Regions from separate parts of the Homo sapiens genome. Here regions 2 and 3 are each linked to region 1. The links are contacts of gene promoters, found by promoter capture Hi-C in blood cells and fetal thymus (Javierre and others, 2016). All regions are on one chromosome and are shown on one strand. Each heading gives the region's core, a stretch centred on a gene start or on the middle of the fragment in contact. The rest is flanking DNA. Distances are from core to core; before and after follow the strand shown.

What was found. Contacts are between HindIII fragments. The CHiCAGO score rates a contact against its expected background, and 5 or more counts as called.
Region 2: a fragment that was not itself captured here is called in contact with the fragment with the promoter of SH3BP4 in region 1 in 1 of 17 cell types (endothelial precursors); the score reaches 7.1 in endothelial precursors.
Region 3: a fragment that was not itself captured here is called in contact with the fragment with the promoter of SH3BP4 in region 1 in 1 of 17 cell types (endothelial precursors); the score reaches 9.9 in endothelial precursors.

Annotation. Positions count from the first base shown.
Region 1 is chr2:234,949,017-234,953,295 of GRCh38, forward strand. It overlaps SH3BP4 (SH3 domain binding protein 4), which reads left to right and starts at 3,001. Exons shown (of 6, transcript NM_014521.3): 1 at 3,001-3,154. It overlaps LOC105373938 (a long non-coding RNA gene), which reads left to right. Exons shown (of 7, transcript XR_007088132.1): 3 at 1-107; 4 at 570-769; 5 at 851-919; 6 at 1,582-2,335; 7 at 2,423-2,783. RefSeq lists an enhancer at 3,454-4,103. The HindIII fragment of the contact is 10,965 bases long and covers 1-4,279 here.
Region 2 is chr2:234,565,640-234,570,326 of GRCh38, forward strand. No RefSeq gene overlaps it. Among named protein-coding and RNA genes, the nearest start is that of ARL4C, 71 kb to the left of the region's middle. The HindIII fragment of the contact is 5,682 bases long and covers 1-4,687 here.
Region 3 is chr2:234,547,457-234,552,315 of GRCh38, forward strand. No RefSeq gene overlaps it. Among named protein-coding and RNA genes, the nearest start is that of ARL4C, 53 kb to the left of the region's middle. The HindIII fragment of the contact is 1,047 bases long and covers 2,655-3,701 here.

The DNA of each region.
Region 1 (4,279 bases), core at 1,751-4,250:
AGTAACAGCTTATATTTGTAAACAATGTGCCGTGCGCCCAGCACTACATTAAGCAGTCTCCATGCAGCACCTCCATTAATCCTGGGGAGCACTGTACCCACTTCAAGGTGAGAACACTGGTACTGAGTGGCCCTGCTTTATGTCACCCAGCAGGTGAGTGGTGGGTCTGGCATTCAAAGCTGGGCAGCCTGATTTTAGAACCTACCACACTGTCTTTATACATAGATGCATGTCCACGTATATATACCCACACACATCACGCACATATGTATCATCTACACATGCACGCACCCAACGCGTGCAAACGCTTGGGGAAAACCTCTGGTAGAGTATAATTCACTGTGAACTATGGAATCTGGGAAAGGGTAGGAACTTAGGATCGATGCTTACTTTTTACTCTACACATTTCTCTAATCATTTTAATCCTTTGAAACAAATGTGTTATCTCTGTACTAAAAAAAAATAAAAACCCAAGTTATTGATTTTGCTGTATGTGTTCCCACTGGAAAGGCTTATTGAATAATTGAATGTTATGAATGAATAGCTCATTTTTTTTTCTTTTGATCCAGAGGCCTTTAGAAGAGCAAGTAACAAAAACTGGTGGAAAAAAAGCACACATTCAACAGGAAGCAACATCTAGAGACCTTTCTGCCTTCCAGGATACAAAAAGAAAACAGTTCATAAACAACTTACATCTAAACCAGTAATGTTGTCTCCCTGGCTCATAGGAGCTGAAGAAGAATTCCAGTTACTGTAGTAAGAATATAAGGTAATGTGTTCTTGTTTTTTTTTTCTTTTTTTTTTTAACCACTTTGTTTAAACATTCTGACCTCTGTTAATTCCTCTCTAGGATGTGGACTGGTTTGAGGATGCTTGAGGCATGACTATAGCAAGTACTGCGCATACATATGTGGACATCGTAAGACACACTCTCTGCTTCCCCAGGCGAAATCTGTAATGCTTTGTTTATTCATGTTCTATTCTGCGTTTCCATGGCACTTTGTTCTTTGTGGTTTTTAGGGTATCTTTCTCCCTCTCTGCTCAGTGAACTGAGCTGCCTGGACAGGCCTTGAGTTTTCTTATTCGATTGTTTTTTGTGTGTGTATGTTTTGCCTTAGCTCCCTCACTAGTATAGTCAAGGAGCTTTTCATGCTTTGAGCCATTTGTGGCATTTCAGGAATTACCTTCATAGCTTTTGTCCATTTTCTACTGGCTTGTCTTTTTCAATGTTTTTATAGGCATTTTTTAAAAAACACAGTGTGGATGTCATTTGGGATAGCAGTACTAATAGTAGCTAAAACTTACTGAAAGCTACTGTGTGCCAGGCAGTCTGCTGAGCACTTTACATGCTGCCTTTCATTTTTACACTCATTTAGGAAACTGAGTCACAGAGAGGCGAGATAACTTGCCAGAGATTCAAGCACACTCCAGACACATCCCTACACCAATCAGACCTCCTAGCCACCCAGAAACTCTCCTCTGCTCGGAGGCTTCTCTGCTTCCTCCACCTGCCCCTTCGCCTCACTGCCTCCTTTCAAAATCTGCGGCATGTATTTTAGGGATACTCGTATCCATTTTCAGGAATTCCATGATCTACACACAGATGACACCAAAATCGGAACAGCAATGTCCACCCTTCTCCCGAGCCCTAGGTCGGTGCCTCTGTCCACCTGTGTCTCCTGAAACTTCAACACAGACTTCAAATGGAGTGGCAGAAAACCAGATTCCTTAGGGAAAGGAAGGTCTCCCAGACGGCAGGAGCGGCAGGCCTTAGGGGCAGCCGCAGGGGCTCGGGAGTCTGAACATACCCGGTTTGAATTCAGACTCTGGCACGCCCCATGCGATCATAACATAGTGCTGCACGTCTCAAGCCACCTATAAAAACGGGGACAATAACAATATCTGCCTCGGGGTTAATGGTGAGGACTGACTGTGTGTGTCTCGCTCAGGACCAGGAGCAACAAATGTTGGCTTCTTCCCCGGCAAAGACCCGCGCTTTCTCCTGGGCTCCGGGTTCCCGGGGTGGGGGTGGGCGCAGTCCCGAGGGCCCCAGGCAGTGGCGCAGTGGTTAGACCCCAGCCTCTGGAGTCGGCCTCGGTTCAGATTCTGGTTCTACCCTTCTCCTCTGTGGCGAACCAACCCTCCGAGCTCTAGTTTACTCGTGTGAAATGGACTAGCCAAAATTGGGATTTTTTTTTTTTTTTAGGATTAGATGTGTCGGTCCATAGACGTTGCTGGCCACATAGTTAAGTGGTGCGTTCACTCACTGGGCATTGATGGAGCGCCTACTACGTGCCAGGCCTGTTTTACGCGCCGGGGGCCCAGAGGCGCCCAGGTCAGACAAAGTGTAAACGATTCCGACCAGAGCCCTTCAATCTGCATTCCGCTTCGCAGGAAACTCTCCTCCTTTTATGATTTTCAGCCGGACTGCCTTCCCTGTTGTTAGTTTGTAACTTTCGCTCCGGCCCCCGCAGCCTCGCGCCTGCCTTCCCTCCACTGTCCTCAGCCAAGGTGTAGTAAAGCGTCTCCGAACGCGGCGCGACCCTCGCCCACGCCCGCTCGCGGGGGGACCGCACCGCCCCAGGGGTCCTCGCTAGGGGTTCCCGGAGAAGGGGTGGGAGATGGGGGTGCGGGGGGGCACAGGAGCGCGGGCCAGCACCCAGACCTGCTCGGTACCGGGGACCCAGACCCGAGGATGCCGGGCGGCCAAGGCCCCGCTACCCTGGCCGGCTCCGGGCGGAGGAAGAAGAGGAGGCGCCCAGACTGGATACCCGCCTGGACCCGGAGCCGCGGCACCACCCCCAGCCCGCCCCACGCTCGCCAGCCTCAGACGGCCGCGCCCCGCCCCGCCCCTCTCCCGAAGCCCCGCCCCGGCGCGGGACCACCCCCTCCGCGGCCTCAGCTCCGGTCCTGGCCCCGCCCCCCGCGCCCCCGCCCCCGCCCCCGCCCCCGCCCCCGCCCAGGCGCGGGACCACCCTCCGCCCGCCGAGGCGGGGGCCCAGCGCGCCCGGCACTCTCGGCGGTCCGGGCCCCTCGCCACTACCGCCGCCGCCGCCGCCGTGAGTCCCGCGGAGCCGCGCGCGCCCCCGGCTGGGCCGAGCCGCTGGCCGACGAGCGGAGCCTCAGGAGCCGGCGGGGACGCCATGCGAGCCAGGTAGGCAGGCGGCGGCGGGGAGCGCCTCGGGCGGCAGGGCCCTGGGGGCCGGCGGGGGCGCGGGGTCGTGCTCGGGGGCTTTGCACTCCCTTGCGGGCGCAGATCGTGCCGCGGGCGCCGATCGTGCCACCGCCGCCTGAGTTCGGGGCTGCGCGGGTGCCTGGGCGTGGGGCGGCTTCGGGGAAGCCTCGCGCGCCCCTCGCCGCTCCCCCGGGCGCTCGGGTCTCCCTGGTGCTGGTGGGCAGGGACCCGGCCCGGGGTTCCGGGCGCCGAGCCGCAGCCCTCCGCGTGCGCTCGGGCCGCCCCCCAACCCCGGCTCTGGCCACTTCCCGGCGGGCGGCCCTGCGGGGTGGCCTCCCTGGGCAACCGGACGCGTCCTCGGGCGCAAATCGGGGGGCGCGCTCGGCTCACGGGGGCCGTGGGGGCCACGGGAGGGCGTGGAGGGGTCGGGGCGCCCCCCTCGAGCGGCGCTGGGGAGGAGGGAAGGACGCGCGGTCTCCGGTTAAACTTGTTGGTGACAATGCATATTTCAACTTCTTCGGAGATCCCTCCTGTGAGGATGAAATTGAAAACTCCGGTTTCTGGCTTGGCGATCGGGTGACCGAGCAGCCGCGAGGTGACAGCGCCGGCGGCCCGCGGGCGGGGACCGGCTGGGATAGAGGCGCGTTGTTCTCTGAGCGATGTTTACCGAGAAGCCCGCTCCGCGGCACGGGCGGGTGTCAGTTGGGACCCCAACCCTGGGTCCCGCGGCTCCTAGCCCGGGGCCTGCGGTGTAGACGGGGGTTGGGGACAGGCCCAGCTGGCCCTGACCGGGTGTCGGGCGCCCAGAGATGCCGCGCGGGAGGAGCCGCGGGAGAGCCGCCGGACTCAGCGAGCAGAGGGTCGTGGAGCCTGATGGATCGATGAGATCTGAAAAAGAACACTGTGCGAGATTGTATTCCTGCTTATTCTTTCCAAGTTAGTAGGCAGATTGGAACTATAGAATTTATCCGTGATAATAATAAAGTTCGCATAACTTTTGTTCTGATTACAGAAACAATGTATGCTCAGGACAGAAAGCTAGAGATAAAGAGAAATATAAACAGCAAACAGGAAACCATCCCCAATCCCACATTTTTTACCAGC
Region 2 (4,687 bases), core at 845-3,344, 380 kb before region 1:
GTGAAAAAAATAAGAGTATTCTGTGTATATCAACTGTGGACCAACCAGATAGCTTTACCAACATTATGCTTTAGGTGTGACAAAAAGTTGTGGGTTTTTTTTTTTTTCTATGTGCGTGTGTGTGTTTTTTTTTTTTTTTTTTTTTTTTTTTTTTTTTTTTTTTTTTTTTTTTTGAGACAGGGTCTCACTCTGTCACAGGCTGGAGTGCAGTGGTACAGTCTGGGCTCACTGCAGCCTCGACCTCCCAGGCTCAAGTGAGCCTCCTGAATAGCTGGGACTACAGGTACCTGCCACCATGCCTGGCTAATTTTTTGTATTTTTTTTGTAGAGACCGGGTTTCACGATGTTGCCCAAGCTGGTCTTTGAACTCCTGGGCTCAAGCAATCCTCCCACCTCGGACTCCCAAAGTGCTGGGGATTATAGGCATGAACCACTGTGCCCAGCCAAAAAGTTTTATTTTTGTTCAAATTATTTTTCCTAGCCTTAGCTTACTTGACCACTGCTGTGTAACTTCACCACTACCACTATCAACAACAACATGTACCCTCAGCCTTCCACAAACACCCAGCATAGCAACCTAGCTAGTAGTTTTCGTCTTTTAAAAAATGTCCGTCCCGTTTCTGTTCCATTATTCACAGTGAAAGGAGTCAAAACAGGAGAATAGGGAAGTCGGAGGAAATTGACAGTCTATCCCTTTGATCCTTCTTAACCAGGGAACAGAACAATGACCTTGCTGGAGGGAACCGCGTTACCAGGGAACAATGACCTAAATAACTCTGACACTGGGTGAAAATGTGGAGGATTCCAGACATCTGAGGTTGAGATGAGCTGGATGGTTTAGTGCTTAAGCATGGCTAGCACCAGACTGACATCAGTTCAGTAATATTCCTTCCTACACTGAAGGTGAGTGAAAACATCTCCCATGAACCCTTGGTGCAGACTTCACAACATCTTGCTGTGTCTGTTTTCTTTTTAAACACAAAGTTTCTTATTTTTTCAAACTTTTCATTTCAAAATAATTCGATATTCAGAGGAAGTTGCAAAGATTGTATAGAGAGGTACTATGTAACCTTCACCTGTCTCCCCCAGTGTGACACAGTACTATGCAAACACAATATGATTACAGTCCAATTTCCACGATATGAATTGCAGTACAATTTCAACATCAGGCAATTGGTGTTGGTGCAATCCACAGGCCTTATTCACCAGTTCCACAAGCACTTATTTGTGTGTGTGTGTGTGTGTGTGTGTGTGTGGTTTGGGCACATGTGTAGATTCATACCCCCACCCACCACCACAATGAAGATACAGAGTTGTTTCATCAGCACAGAGATTCCTCTTGTGCTGTCAAGTTTCTTAACATGTTGATGTTCACCTAGTTTGGTAATAAGATTGGGTTCTTGCTGAAATAACACATCGAACATAGGGTGTACTGTTCTTATGAAGACCTCACATAAAATCCTTTGCCCTGGGACAAATGTGCTTCTTCCCACCTGGATACAGTTTACCCTAATTCAAGACAAAAATTGTGAAAAGGAAATAATCAATCTTGAGGTTTTTGTCTTCATCCAATCAAGCACCCAGCACTATTAAGACTTCCTCCAAAACACACTGAATTCCATGCAGTCTTTCCATCCCATTGGCATGGTCATTGTTCAGGATGCAAATGTCTTTTCCCTGGATCAATGTGACAGACATCCATCCAAATGGCAGCTCTGCCTCCATTCGTGTTCCCCTGCAGCAATCCAGCCACCACCATACGGCCACAGGGCTCCTTTAAAAGGGCCAATCATGTCACATCAGCCCCTCTCCCAACCAGTCCTGTTTAATAAAACTTAATGCTCCTCCCATGGATCTTGTGAGCAAATTTAAACTCCAGCTGGTGGCTCATGAGACCGCTTGCTATCAGCCCTGCTATCAACCCCCTGCCAATCCTTGCAGTGGCCTTCACCTCTCCTCCCCTGATGTCCAGCAACACTGGATTTCCTGTGCCCTTGGGTTGGGTGTGCTCTCTTCACATCTGGGCCACCCATGTGATGCTGACCACCCCATTCTCTCTCCTATTGCCCCCGGATCGCTGCTCATCCTTCTAATGTCAGCTTCGACACCACTTCCTCCAAAAACCCTTCTTCAGCTTCCCAAGTGTGTGCTACATGCCTCTCTGTGTGCATCCTGGGGCGAGGGTTCCACGGGACCCTCAGCACAGTGTGTGATCTTGGCCACCAAATATCGGGGTCCACCTGCAGCCTTTAAGCTCCAGCCACACAAAGACGCTTCTCACTTGTTTACCTTTGCATTCTGATGAAAATGACACCCAGACATAAGATGCCCTTATTGGGACAGGGAAAAGTGAGGACAATGTGGGAAAGTTCAAGAATGAGGCCTGAGAAACCCATATAAGGAGGAGAATGAGGGATTCAGCCTCTTGACAGGGAATGTCCTCATTCTTACGGTATCATCCCACCATTACCCACTGATTTCAGAGGGAGGATGTGCTTCCGATGGAGACGCTCTGTAGCAGCTCCTTCGTCGAGTGATGGAATGCAGCCACCCAGCATACATGCCTCTGGGTGGGGCCCTGTGAAGACAGCAGTGTCACCAATGGAGTGTTGCCAGCCAGGGTATTTGAATCTGATCAAGAGAAAACAATCAGACAAATCTAGAGGAAGGCCGTCTTCATGACAGCTGGTCTGGACCCTCTAAATAGGTCAACAGTATGAAAAGCAAAAGATGAGGTGGCTATTCTTGATTTTCTAAAATAGAGATGAATAGCAGCCAAATACAATGCTTGATTTAAAAAAACACTGTAAAATATTTTTGGGACAATGGGGACTTGAACATGGAGTGGCTTTCAGATGATTTCATGGGATTCTTGTTAGTCTCCTTACGTGGGATCATTGTACTGGGGTCATGTGGATGGCGCTTATTCACTGGAGACTGGTGCATACTTAGGGATAAAGATCACAATGTCTGCAACTTACTTTCAAATGATTCATCAATAAATATATTTTGTCTCTGTGCACACATATGTGTGTATGCACACAAATGTCAAATGCATATGTGGCAAAATGTTAACAATTGGTGAATCTAAGATGCAATGTTCATTTTATTATTCTTCTTATTATTATTTTGAACAGAGTCTCACTCTGTCACCCCGGCTGGAGTGCAGTGGTGCGATCTCAGCTCACTGCAACCTCCGCCTCCCGGGTTCAAGCGATTCTCCTGCTTCAGCCTCCTGAGTAGCTAGGACTACAGGCACGGGCCACCACGCCTGGCTAATTTTTTGTATTTTTAGTAGAGGTGAGGTTTCACCATGTTAGCCAGGCTGGTCTCGATCTCCTGACCTCATGATCCGCCTACCTCAGCCCATTATATTATTTTTAAACTTCTCTGTAGGTCTGAACATATTCAAAGGAAAAAGTTGGAACAAGAAAGAGTGACTCAGGATGGAAACCTTGCCACCAAGGTGGGGTTACGTGGGGTCTGTGCCTTGAGTAGTAATGCATAACCCAGAAATCAGCCCTAAGCAGAGACACTGAGGACAATGGCGCGTGTTGGGCACTGCACAACCCTAAAGGAGCCATTTACATAGACAATCGTGTCAATGATGCTTCCCCCCATACCCTGTTCAACTGTCCACAGTCATCTGTGCCTAGAGGCAGTATATGCTGAACTAGACCGAAGCCTAGAGTGGCCAGATTCTGCATGCAGGAGTGGGGATTGGAGTAAACTAAATCAGTGTTTTCCAAGGTGTAGATCATGAGGGATTACTAAGTATTCTCTGAGACTGGAGGCGTTGTGAGGGCAGGCTGTGTATGGCTTTCTTCTGTTTCACCAGTGCAGAGCCCAGTATTTAGCACAAAATAGGGAGTCAATAATTTTTGTTTTTGCAATAACAAGTTAACTGCTACCAAATACATTTAAGAAATAGTGCATGAAACAGGATTGCTAGAATAAGATTTCTCAGAGACTTTGATACAGTAAATCCATGGGTGAATCTCCAAAAGGAGAACACAGGAGGCAATGTTCCTGAAACTAGCTCAACATGGAAACCTTCAACCACAAAGTGGCTCACAGGCATATTGCTATGTCCTGGATGCAACGTGTAAAATGTATTTCTTGTGGGTCATGGTCGAGAAAGTTTTAAATTTCCATTTTTAGAAAAAAGTCCATGAGTGTTTGTTGCTGAGATTTCTTGAGCTTCCTTCTTCTGCTCTTTCCATGGCTAACTATTTAGCTAGCTGTCAAGCCTCCTGCTGCTGTCTTCCCTTTCTTGCTTCAGTAAATCTGAGTCTGCTGCCACCCAAGAGCTGTGAAGTTTCTGCTGCTCCTCTTCAGTGGTTCCACGGTTCCATTTGCTGCACTATTGAGAAACTTTCTCAGTTTCTGGTCACAGGAACTAACTTAAATCAGCTGAGACACAAAAAGACAATTTATCGGTTTATGTGATCAAAAAGTCTGGTCATGGCCTAAAAATAAATCATAACATTTCTGTTTCTCTCTCCATTTCTCTGCCAGTGTCTTCATGTGGCTTCCGGAGGCCCCAGACTCATGTCCTATTAGTTTAGAGGTCTGACCCTGAGAGGCAGAAAGAAAGCACTTATCTCTACAGATCTGCTGGGAAGGTCTTGGGGAAGAATGTCACTAGTCAAGCATGAGTGGGATGCCTGTCCCTAAGCCAATCACT
Region 3 (4,859 bases), core at 1,928-4,427, 400 kb before region 1:
GAGAGGACATCTCATGCCAAACTGAAAGGGCCCAGGGAGGAAAGGTCGGTGCACAGGGTGGTGAGGGCGTGCTGTGTGTGGTGGGCGCACAGCAGGGAAGGCAGAGGTGGATTCAAGGAAGTGAGAAGGGGCAGTATGAGGAGGTGAGGTAAACTCAGGAGAAGTTGAAGAAGCAGTCAGTTTGGCCTGAGGAAGAATCAAGGGCAATTCTTTTTGAAGCAGTGAGAGCTGCCCAAAATGCTGAAAACACAGACGCAAGGGTAGACGGATTCTGTGGCCTCCATGTCATAGGAATAGAATGAATGGCTGAAGGGCAGAAGGAGGAGTGTTGGAGGATAAATGGAAGCAGAGACAGCAGTTACTGAGCAGGTGCAACACATCAGGTGCCTTATGTGTGTCCTCCTGTTGATTCTCACAGCAATGCTGGAGTGGAACAATTATACCTTCCACCTTCCACAGGAGGTAGCTGAGGCCAGTGCACTTAGGAAACTTGCCCAATATTATGGGCTGCCAATTGGTGGAGCTGGGATTTGAACCCAGGAAGCCTGGTTCCCAGGCCTGTGCCAATGAAAGGCAACCAACCATGAAGCAGGCACCTTCTAAGGCAGTGAGGATCTCATTGCTGGAAATTTTCTAGAAGGGGGCGATATAGTGGACATTTGTGGCTAGCTCCCCAGCGCTTGTATAAGTCAGCACACTCCAATCCCTGTTTCCCCAGGGGCACCCACATGATGGAAGAGCTGGCCAGCCCCAGCTGCCATAAAAACCCTGGCCAAGGGAGGCACAGAGCGGTCCCTGGGGGCACTGGCCTACCTGACCACAGCGTCCAAAGCTCGTGGCCTCTGGGCTTTCCACTAGGAGGGGTGATTGGAAGAAAGAGTGAAAGGCATCCAGGAGCTAAATGATAAGAACTCATGAACACAAAGAAGAAAATAACAGACACGGGTCTACTTGGGGGTGGAGGGTGGGGGAAGGGAGAAGAGCAGAAGAGATCACTACTGGGTACTGGGCTTAATTCCTGGGGGATAAAATAATCTGTGCAACGGATGTCGTGACATGAGTTTACCTATGTAACAAACCTGCACATGTACCCCTGAACCCAAAATAAACGTTGACAAGAAGAAAGGCATCAAGGAATTAAATTGTTAAACTTTGGGAAAAAGTTGCAGCTCAGGCAGACTTGGAGGAGAGAGAAACCAGTGTTTTGGAGTGAGAGAGAGGAAACAGGCAGTTCTGAATTCTTTGGAGCAGTCGAGGGAGCCCAGGCAGGGGCTAAAGACACCCGCTCGAGGGCGTGGCTGCCTTCCCGAACCCCTTCGCCCTGGCCAAGGCCTCCTCCTCTATGAGAACAAAGTCAGAATTGAGAAAAACTACACACAAAAGGATAATCATCCATTCAGACGGTGAGGGTGCTGAGTGAGCTGTGTCTAGGGGAAACCAGCGGGGAGGGCCCGGGAGGAGTTTGTGCTACAGCAAGAATATTATGAAGAAGAAAATGACTTCACCAGAAAAGGGCAGCCTGAGCCTGTGGCCTCCATGGCTTCTCCAGGCTATGGGTCTGTGCTTCTCCTACAGACTCTAGTAACGTCTGAGTTGCTTGAAAAAGAAATCGAGGGGCTTTACACCCATGTTGTCACACCTGTGCTTATCATTAGCATTACAATCTGGAAAGGGGGCGGGCTGGGGAGAGAGGGAAGCTTCCTCTCCTGGGGCCCAGGGACATGTGGTCTGGAATCCTAGCAACCCAAACAGCTGGCTGCTGTACTGGCTTCTTGGCCGGTCCCCTCTCATACTCCAATATAGAGATGCAGACAGTGAGTCAATGAGTTCCCATCACTGATAAGTCACATGGTTTGGGTTTGCCTCGTTTTGTGTCTTGCAAACAAAAGCATTCTGATGGATTTGGCTGAGGTCAGTCCGCCCTCTCTCAGGGTTGCTATGGAAGGAATCTCTCCATCAGGAGGTGTGTGGACGAGGACCTCTGAGATCTCTGGCTCAACTCTAAGATTCTATTACTCCTTCGTATGATTCAAAGTTGCGTAGGTTCTTCTTCTTTCAGGTGCAGGTGGAAAACATTTAAAGACACAGAGTTTTTAAATTGTTTTATATTTTAGATTCAGGGGTTACACGTGCAGGTTTGTTTCAAGGATATATCATGTGATGCTGATGTTTGGACTTCTATTGATTCCATCACCCACATAGTGAGGGTAGTACCCAGTAGAAAGTCTTCAGCCCTTTCTCCCCACTCCCTCCCTTTCTCCCTCCTTCTCTCCTTTTGGAGTCCCCAGTGCCTATTGTTCTCATCTTTATATTTGCGTGTACCAAGGTTTAGCACCCACTTGTAAGTGAGATGTGACATTTGCCTTTTTGTTTCTGCATTACTTCATTTAGAATGATGGCCTGCAGCCACATCTATGTTGCTGCAAAGGACATAATTTCACTCTTTTTTATGGCTCCATAGTATTCCATGGTGTACATGTATGACATTTTCTTATTCAGTCCACCATTGATGGACATCTAGGTTGATTCCATGAAGAGAGACACAATCTTAATTATTTTGTCATCACAGACGTCACTAAGACAAAAAGAGGGAACATTTAACGTAAGTTCTACAACCTAATGACACCGACAGGAATTCGATCCTGGTTTTGGAAAGCTTAAATTAGACACACACACGTGCTCAGGCACACACAAAGCAGAATTCTTTGTCTAACTTAGACCCCAACTTCAGAGGGTAAGTTCAAGTTCACATCTTGAAAATTTAAATGGCTCTATTAAGACATTCTTCCCATATCCTTGGGTTTAAAATGCAGTGAGTCAACCAGCCAAACTAATTTCGTACTCAACTCTCATATACTTGAACGAATTATGGCTATTTTTAACAGGATTATGAAGATTATCAAAATCACTTGAGAGAGTAAGAAATCCTGTTGGAAGGAAGTATAATACCCTTGCAAAGATAAGTATAATTAGTGTGGAAAAGGGCGATGAAAAATTAATAGAGTTTTAAGGTCAAAGATACATGCAGATGTGTAAAATCCTCAAATTAGTTCTTGTAAGACTCTGTCCTAACAAATTCCGCGATCAGAACATTCTCCGAAGTTTTTCTGCATTCTTCAGACTCTCCAAGAGTGGAAGGTGCCAACTGCATCCCTAGCCAGGGCAGGAGAACAAAGAGAGGAACCCACATCGTGACCACAACCATCTCAGCCCCGAACGACGCTGCTCTCATAGCGAAGGTGTTCAGTTTCACCACTAGAGGGAGCGCAGAGCCCACAGCATCATCATAAGGTTAGGGAGAAAGAAGAAATTGGGTCCAGAAACTTCCTTCGGCATCCCCCACCCACCACAGATAAACGTTACAGCGATCTCATGGGAGAATTGAGAATGCACACAGGTCAAACGATCTTGTGGTAGACCACAGGCTGGGTAAGTTCATTTGCAAGTCCTTGCTGTCTGCTAGCCTCCAGCGCGTGCCTTACAGACACTTTTGATGGATAATCACACCTTTCTCACAAGGGTTCCGTGAGTCACTATTTTGCAGAAGAAGCAACTGAGGCCCAGAGAGTAACTTGTTCGAGTTGATAAAGCAAGTAAGTCTTCCGGACTCCAAAGATGGTGCCTGTAACAGTGTTCCCAGGAAGCACCCAGGACTCAGGACGCTCTTTGAAGATCACAATTGTATGATCTCACTGAAAACAAGCTTCTGCCCCTGAAGTCATGTTTTGACATCCTAGCTGTTCCTGGGAACTCATCCACAACGTCCCATTAAAAGTGGCCATGACATTACAGAAAGAAAACAGAAAAGAAGGAGAGAGTGAGAGAGAAATTCACAAGAGTGCCCCTACCACCAGGAACCTAAAAAACAGAGAGAAAATCCACAGGCCAAGAGGAAATCCACTGGGCTGCTAGTGGAGTTTGACAGAGAAGCACAAGTCATCATCGGATATCCTGTTTCTAATATGAATGGTAAAGGCCTCAATTTATTTATTTAATTTAATTTAATTTTTTGAGACGGAGTTTCACTCTTGTTGCCCAGGCTGGAGTGCAATGGTGTGATCTCGGCTCACTGCAACCTCCGCCTCCCTGGTTCAAGTGATTCTCCTGCCTCAGCCTCCCAAGAAGCTAGGATTACAGGCACGCACTACCACACCCAGCTAATTTTTGTATTTGTAGTAGTGACAGGGTTTCACCATGTTGCCCAGGATGGTCTGGAACTCCTGACTTCAGGTGATTCCCCCGCCTCGGCCTTCCCAAAGTGCTGGGATTACAGGCCTGAGCCACCGCGCCCAGCCAATTTATTTTTACAAAAGAATATTTCTATAACAAATAAGAAAAAATGGAATTATAACAACACTGTTGGTTTATAGCATCGAATGAACAAAAATCGGGGTATAAAGGAGGGGATGGCAGTTCTTTCCATGGATAAGGCATAGTCAAAATTCCTACTCATTTTTTTTTAACTCTGATAATTAAGCGATAGGGATAAACACAACTTGGTAAACCAAAAATTAAAGACTAAGAACTGAATGTCTCTTCTTTCAAATACAAGAGAAAATTCATGTAAATAAATAAATATGATATACTTAATACATATAATATTAACATCAATATTAATAATATAATATTATATATTAAATATTATATTCTTAATTATAAAAGATAGGAAGTGAAAGGAACAACAGTGAGCCCCCAAAGAGACAAAAGTGTGAAACTACACAGCAAGAATGAGTGAAAGAGAGTTGTTTAAATTCCATAGTTAGGGCCGGGCGCGGTGGCTCACGCCTGTAATCCCAGCACTTTGGGAGGCCGAGGCGGGCGGATCACGAGGTCAGGAGATCGAGACCATCCTGGCTAAC